Linked DNA regions of Homo sapiens: region 1 is linked to region 2. The links are contacts of gene promoters, found by promoter capture Hi-C in blood cells and fetal thymus (Javierre and others, 2016). All regions are on one chromosome and are shown on one strand. The core of a region is centred on a gene start or on the middle of the fragment in contact, and the rest is flanking DNA. Distances in the headings are between cores, read along the strand shown. Region 1 overlaps AMD1 (adenosylmethionine decarboxylase 1). Region 2 holds the start of SLC22A16 (solute carrier family 22 member 16).

Evidence for each region. Contacts are between HindIII fragments. The CHiCAGO score rates a contact against its expected background, and 5 or more counts as called.
Region 1: a fragment that was not itself captured here is called in contact with the fragment with the promoter of SLC22A16 in region 2 in 1 of 17 cell types (M2 macrophages); the score reaches 5.0 in M2 macrophages.

What each region holds. Positions count from the first base shown.
Region 1 is chr6:110,876,207-110,880,207 of GRCh38, reverse strand. All of the region lies in intron 1 of AMD1 (adenosylmethionine decarboxylase 1), which reads right to left. Among named protein-coding and RNA genes, the nearest start is that of AMD1, 3.4 kb to the right of the region's middle. RefSeq lists an enhancer at 3,571-4,001. The HindIII fragment of the contact is 1,622 bases long and covers 1,873-3,494 here.
Region 2 is chr6:110,475,142-110,478,842 of GRCh38, reverse strand. It overlaps SLC22A16 (solute carrier family 22 member 16), which reads left to right and starts at 2,230. Exons shown (of 8, transcript NM_033125.4): 1 at 2,230-2,321. The coding sequence starts at 2,269. LOC105377938 (a long non-coding RNA gene) reads right to left here and starts at 3,326. Exons shown (of 2, transcript XR_942860.3): 1 at 3,181-3,326. The HindIII fragment of the contact is 6,876 bases long and covers 1-3,701 here.

The sequences.
Region 1 (4,001 bases), core at 1,434-3,933, 400 kb before region 2:
CGATGGCTCAATCACTTGAAGTCAGGAGTTCAAGACCAGCCTAGCCAACATGGCGAAACCCTGTCTTTTACTAAAAATACAAAAATTAGCCAGGCATCGTGGTGCATACCTGTAGTACCCACTATTAGGGAGGCTGAGGCAGGAGAATCATTTGAACCTGGGAGGCGGAGGTTGCAGTGAGCTGAGATGGCACCACTGCACTCGAACCTGGGTGACTGAGACTGTCCAAAAAAAAAAAAGACCAAGAACTTAAATACAGAAGGATCCCATTAGTGCAGGGTTATGCTCTAATCACCTGAAAACTCAATACATAGATGCTATTCCCATACCCAGTTAGGTCAGACACTTTCTGAGGATGATGCCTGCAAATTTTTATTTGAAAAGCTTCCAGGTCATTAGATTACTCATTACTTCCTAATGTAAAACCAGCTGGTTTCAGAGTTCAGGTAATTTATCCAAAGTCACTGCAGCTTCTCAATTCTGCTCTTACCTCATATTTTTAGGTCTGTTTTAGAGGCTCTCATTACAGTACATTCATCAGGGTGCCTCTACCCCAGGTAGTAAGCAGTCTTTAGGTAAAAGGCATCCTAAAACCAGATCATTCTTGAGTAAAGCTAGACTGACCAGAAGTTAGATTCTGAGGGTGCCTTCCTGCGGCAGTGAATTCAGATAACCTGAGAAATAAGCCTCCTCCCTTTTGTTCAAAGATATGAACCTATTATCATCACATTATTGTTTCTCTATCTCAAATTTTTACCCCAAATCGGGATACTCCTCTCAGTTTTCTGCTACTTTCAACATGTGCTTCTTAAAGATACATGGTTTGTAAACAACAGTTGAAATATTTTCGTTGTTGTTGAGAGGGTTTCACTCTGCCACCAGATGGAGCGCACTGGTGCAATCTCATTTCGCTGCAGCCTCGATCCCCCAATGGCTCAAAAAAATCCTCCCACCTCAGCTTCCCGAGTGGCTGGGATGCAGACACGCACCAGGATGGACCAGCACGCACAGATAATTTTTCAATTTTTTTTGTAGAGTCAGGATTTCACTATGTTGCCCAGACTGGGCTCTCAAACTCCTTGGTCTCTCAGAGTGCTGGGATTAGACATGAGCCACCAAGCCCAGCCATGAAACCTTTTTGAAACTGCTGGGAGGAATGTAACGAGAAGCTTTATTCTTTAGCAGGAAGCATTTCTACTCTGAAACATTACACTAAAAGGTTTTTTGGCAACGGGTTGTAAATTCCTTCAATGTAAATTATTGATATTGCAATAATGCTGCATAATGATGTAGTCAAATAAGTCATGAGTTTGGGGAAAGTTAAGCTGAGGTATGACTATCTTTACAACTGCCCCAATCCTTTACTAAAAATTATGTTTTAGTTTATAAAATCTGAGTAAAGCACAGTAATAGGATTTCCAGTCCTGAAAAATCATTCTTTTCTCAGCAAAATTTTCTATTTTCTAACAGATTTCCTTCTTACTACTCTCACCCTCCCTAAAGCTGCCATGTCTTATAAAAAGCTTTTGTTTGTTACAGCACTTTGATCCAACAACTAAACCATTTTTTAAATGGTCACTGATTTTTATTCAACATCCGTAAAATCTGAAAAATCAGAGAAAACTGCAGGTTACCCCTAAGAAACCGCCTCTCCCTTAATTGTCCTTTATTCATCTGGATATACCTGGACTGCTGCTTTTCTCCAACAGTATTGTTTAACCCAAGCTATATCATAAAAGATTTTTCTTTGTTAAATTTCTCAGTATTACATAATTTGTTCACTTAAGATAAAATATCTTAAATGGTCTACAAGAGGGAAGCAGTGTTTAGTAAAAAGGTGTACATTCAGAAAAGATTCCAAGCATTAAAGCTTGGACTGATGAGCCAAGTTTGTTTAAAGTGTATTCCCTCACACCACACACAAAATCAATTCCAGATGGATTGCAGATCTAAATATGAAAGGTAAATATCGTGTAGGAGAAAAAAATATTTCAGACTTTGGGATGAGAAAACCGAGGGAAGTATGTTGTTTCCCAGAAGAATGCGTGAAAAAAGTTGGATATTTTCTCCCTTGAATTATACAGAACACTCCAGTGAAATCATCTGGGCCTAGATGATTGACTGATTCAAGTTATTTAGGTGTTCTAGGACTGTTTTGGGTTCTCCATTTCTTCTTGCATTAGTTTTGGAAAGCTATTTTTCCAGGATTTTTTTCTCCCTCATATCCTTATCTTGTTATCCTTGTCTTTAGCATCAATACTAATGCTCTCTTTGGACATTTAAGCCTTTCATTCTCTTAATCGTTTTTATGTCCCTATGTTTATTATGCTTTATAAACAGATTTGTTTAATTCCATCTGTTCATCTTTTAACCTACTTTTAGTTTATTCACATCTTAATAGAGCCCAGGAGGTCAAGGCTGCAGTGAGCCATGATCCTGCCACTGCACTCCAGCCTGGGCTATAGAGGGATCCTGTCTTTAAAGTGTTAAAGATAACAGTTTACGTACTACATATAACATATTAACTTATTTATTCTTCACAACTTCCATGAGCTATGTACCATTATTGTCTCCATTTTACAGATGAGGAAACAGCTCACACAGCTATTAAATGCTGTTTGAATTCAAATCTTGTTATTCCAGAGGCTATGCACTTAATCACGTCATTTGAGTAAAACATGTCACGCTTTATTCTTCTAGATGACCGATTATCCTTCCCTGGGGTCTCTGGGGCTGGCCCCATGTCCCCACCGACCGGACTCCGTCCATGATACTCTCTTTGCTAGGCTGTTGATTTTAGGTGATTCAAGGAACACCTACTATTTCAGGCTTTTTTAAACATCCTGGTAAATAACCTAACCACTTGAGTGGTCACTGAAAAATGTTCCAACGAAGGTTATCACGGGACCTTAGTTAAATCAACATATTTTTCAGTTCTTGCTTAACTTGCTTTATCTACAACAGTTACAATGTGGCAGTGTACTACCAATAGTTGTTCAATGAATGTTACATGTCCACAAAATGGATGGCACTAAATCATCTACACAAGGGAATATTTTGTCCTTCAAAGTTTAACTTTGGCCATGATTTTAAAAGCCACACTGGAGCAGTAAAACAATTTGGGCTGATTAAAGTACAAAGTAAAAAGGGTTCTTAAACATTTAAAGAAAGCAGGCTGCTTTGTAAAAAGCCTCTTCCTCCTCTCTCCACTTTGACTCAGGAAGCTCTAAACAGCCAAACCGCCAAGAACTTGGGGAGAACAAAATCTTCTTCCCTTTATTAAGAACATGTACTTACTATTATTTAAGGGCTCAAACATTTAAAAAGCCAAAGTGACAACTTCTGTTATTCGTTTTCTAGGACTGTTCTTACCCAAGATTTTCTAGGTTCTTGCCAAGATTTTCTAGGTTAATTATCCTGATCACAATCGTTTTACCAAACGTCTATCACAAATACCATCTTTCTCATCTGTGAAATGAAGGAAATACTAAGCTTCTCCATGACCAAAGTCCGCTTCCTATAATCTCACGTGAGCCTGGCACGTAGTAAGCGCTATAGACATTTTAAGTGTCACACGAAGCTTGAAAAAAATGAGACGTGTGACATTTTAGCTATGACTAGTATTTTTTTCTACAATGGAATCGTTCAAGATACACTGCTAGAAACCGGGTTTCCCGTCGTGCCTTAAAGTCTCGGTAGCACGTGTCTGCCTGGATTCCCTTTTCCAGTTGCTTTTTGTCAAGGGACAGCTCCAAGAACAGCTAACACTCCTAAAACGCCCATTGGTCCACACCCTGGGGCCAGGCTCTGAGTGCGGCCCAGGAGCCCATTGGTCGCCGCCTCTCAATGAAGCTGGCCACGCCAGTTACTCCGCTGCACCGCCACCCTAGCCGCACTCGTGCGCAGAGGAGCCAGGGATCCGGTGGCAGGGCCTAGGAAGGCCATTGGTGGCCACCGGTGCGACCGCCGCCAGGAACAAGGCCTAAGCATCCACGGGATCT
Region 2 (3,701 bases), core at 981-3,480:
TGACTGGCTGCCATGGCCCCCACCTTTCCTCCTAGGCTCAGCCCTTGACATAACTACTCCTCACTACCCTCTCATCTTCCCCCCACCTTGTATCCCTCTAGCATTCCTCACCTGAAGAACTTAGGCTTTCTTAAGTCTCTTTAGTTAGCAGGAAACTATCTAATTTAAAAACCCTCTCCAAGTTGTTTATTACTTAAGGGATTAGTCCTTCCAAGAGTATTTATGTTTCAGAAGAGAATGTCTAGATAGGATTGTGCATAACAAAAATAAGTCAATTTTTAATGGTGTTATTGTAGGCTCTGTGACAAGTAGGGGAGGGAAGCACTTTGGGAAATGGACTCTCCTCTCTTTCAAATATTATTCAAGTACAAGTTTGCGCCTGTTACTCTTCTGCTTTAAGACTGTCTACAGGGAGTTCTCCTTGTCCTTTGGTCAAAGTAAAATGTTCAACACAGCCTTGCAAGATCCTGCCGCTTCTCGGAGCCATCAGACCCACTCTTGATGCTCTGCTCTGGTAGAGCTCTGCCCTGGCCCTCAAACTGTTGGACTTCTCTGAGAAAGCGATAGGTGTGCTCAGATTTTAAGGATGAGGTGGAGAAGTTCAGAGAGAGGGCATTTGCTATGGAACTGAGGCTACCAAAGTGACGAAGAGAATGCATCCCTGTTCTCTAGGAACTCAAGGTTTAGTGGCCTTATAGAGTGGAATAGCACGCCAACAGTGGGGCCAGTGACTGCCAGGCTGACTAGAGAAGGCAACTCTCACTGTGGATATAGTCGGAAACTGGCTTTTCTGCTTCAGCGCTGTGGACCAGCAATTGACCTTTCTTCCCTAAAGTTCATTCACTTGATACCTTCCAGAAGGAAGGTCACCCCCTGCCTGGGTTGGCTATGGGCCAAACCCCTGCCCACTCCAAAGTGTGGCTTGGAATGCCATGGTCTGCTTATTAAAAATCAGATTTCGGGAGGCCAAGGCGGTCGGATCACGACGTCAGGAAATCGAAATCATCCTGGCTAACACGGTGAAACCCCGTCTCTACTAAAAATACAAAATATTAGCCGGACGTGGTGGCGGGCACCTCCCCGCTACTTGGGAGGCTGAGGCAGGAGAATGGTTTGAACCCGGGAGGTGGAGCTTGCAGTGAGCCGAGATTGCACCACTGCACTCCAGCCTGGGCGACAGAGCGAGACTCCGTCTCAAAAAAAAAAAAAAAAAAAAAAAAAAAAAAAAAAAAAAAAATCAGATTCCTGTTCCCCAGGCATCCTGAATCATCAGGGATGGAGTCTCAAAATAAATGTACATTTATTTATTTTTTATTTTTGTATAGACGAGGTGTCGCTATACGTTGCCCAGGCTGGTCTCAAACTCCTTGGCTCCAGCAATCCTCCTGCCTCGGCCTCCCAAAGCACTGGGATTATAGGCCTGAGCCACCACGCCGGCCTAATTGTACTTTTATTTTTTTGAGACGGAGTTTCACTCTTGTTCCTCAGGCTGGAGTGCAATGGCACGATCTTGGCTCACCGCAACCTCCGTCTCCAGGGTTCAAGCGATTCTTCTGCCTCAGCCTCCCGAGTAGCTGGGATTACAGGCATGTGCCACCACGCCCGGCTAATTTTGTATTTTTAGTGGAGACGGGGTTTCTCCATGTTGGTCAGGCTAGTCTTGAACTCCCGACCTCAGGTGATCCGCCCGCCTCGGCCTCCCAAAGTGCTGGGATTACAGGCGTGAGCAAGTGCGCCCGGCCTTAAATGTACCTTTTAAACCAAGTTCTGCAGTAGATTCTTAGGCATTAAAGTTTGAGAGCCATGTTTCTGAGGGGCGTCATGCTGAAGGCTATATATTCTTGCGGCCCCCGGACCGAGCCTAGCCCTTGCATTCCCACCCTGGGCTCTCTCTCAGCGACAACTTTTCCCAGGCGTCGGGGCTTCCCTCGAGCGTGGCGACCCCGCAGACATGGTGCCAAGAGCCAGGGTGGGCGGCGGGGCGGGTGGGAGAGCGGCGGCGCTGGGGGCGAGGGCACCATGCGACCGCGGGCGCCGGGACCACAGCGCGCCGGGAAGGAGGCCGAGGCGGCAGGAAAAAAGCCGAAGATACTTGGGGGGACCGAGGGGCCAAGCGACGGAGGGAGGAACAGAATACAGCCTCGCGCTGGTCCCGAGCACTGGGACGCGCGGGGAGAGCAGGAGGCCGGGCGGGGAGGTTCGGGGCGGGGCGCGCTACCCGCAGTCCCCGGAGCTCGGCTAACTCGGCGCCCAGTGCACGGCCGCACCATGGGGTCCCGCCACTTCGAGGGGATTTATGACCACGTGGGGCACTTCGGCAGGTATGGGGGAGGGGCCCCGCGGCGCCACGCGGGAGGCGGCGCCGAGGGGTCTGTTTCTTTCCGTTGCGGCGGGGTTCTCGCGCGGCGCTCGCGATCCGAAAACATCTCCACTTCCTCCTCACCCCGCGCAGTCGGGACACGGGCGTCCAGACGCCGGCCCCTAGCTGGGCTTCTCCTCTAGGCCTCTGGCAGCGGGACCTGGCATGGTGAGCAGAGGCGCTGGGCTCGCTCGGAGTGCGCCTGTTGCCGGGCAGGAGGGACCTGGTGCGTGCTCTCCGCGGCAGCAGATGCTGGAGGCATCTGGCTGGAGATCTGGCTCGAGGGGCCAGATCTCACTCGTAGGGGGTGCCTGTGCCTGGCCGCCCGTTTCTCTAATCCGCCGCCACTTCCCTAGACGGCTGCTGCCCAGTTCTGCCCTGCGCCTCCGTAGGGCCTCCCTCTGTGCCTGGCAGGTGTTCCCCAGGGACAACCGTTAGTCAGAGTTGGTTGCCGTTTATTAAAACCTAATACGTGCCAGGTACACTGTACCTGGCGCTTACACATAGTTCTTCATTTGATGTTCACCGGGACCCTGCAAAGGAGGTGTTCAAATCCTTATTTTAGTGATTGGGAAACAAGCTGGCGGGGTCAAGGACTCATAGCCAACGCATGGTGGAACCACGTTTAACCTCCGTACACCCTCTTTTCATTTGTCAAATTGATTTAAAAAATTTAAATTATTCATTCGTTCGTTCACTCATGGACAGAGCTCCTCTATCTGACTCAGAGTGTTTTGAGAGGGGAGGTAGCCGGGTGAGGGGCCATGCAGCGTTATGGCCGGAGATTTGGAGCTGCGTCTCGATCCTGGCCTGCTACTTACCTCTGATATGATTCTGGAGATACTTTGTGTGTCAGTTTCCTATCCAGAAAACGGGAATCAGGCTTAGCAAAGAGATGATGTGGTGCTGTTCTTCAAGGTGGAAGGTTGCATGCGTTTTGGTTTTGATTCCCAGTGTCTGCAAAAAGGAGCTGTTAGGACAGAGGAAACGGGCAGGAAGCCCCAGCTGTTCCCTTCTTCCTCTGCTTGCATCATTGAACGCTGCCTTGTGCCTGGCTCGGTCATAAGCCGTTGGTACATGTTACTTCCTTTAATCTTCACTACAGCCTTATAAGGTTGGTAGTATCACCCTCTTTTCACAGATGAGAAAACCAAGGTTTCTGCCTAAGCACAAATCTAATACTAGCAGGGCAGAATTGGATGCCATTGGATGCCCATCACCTCCACAGCCCACACTCTCAACCATGATGCACTCCTGAGCACGGTTAGGTGACGGCTCCTCAGCTGGGCCAAGCTCTTTATGTATGATCTCATTTCATCCTTCTGGAAGCAGAATAGCACAG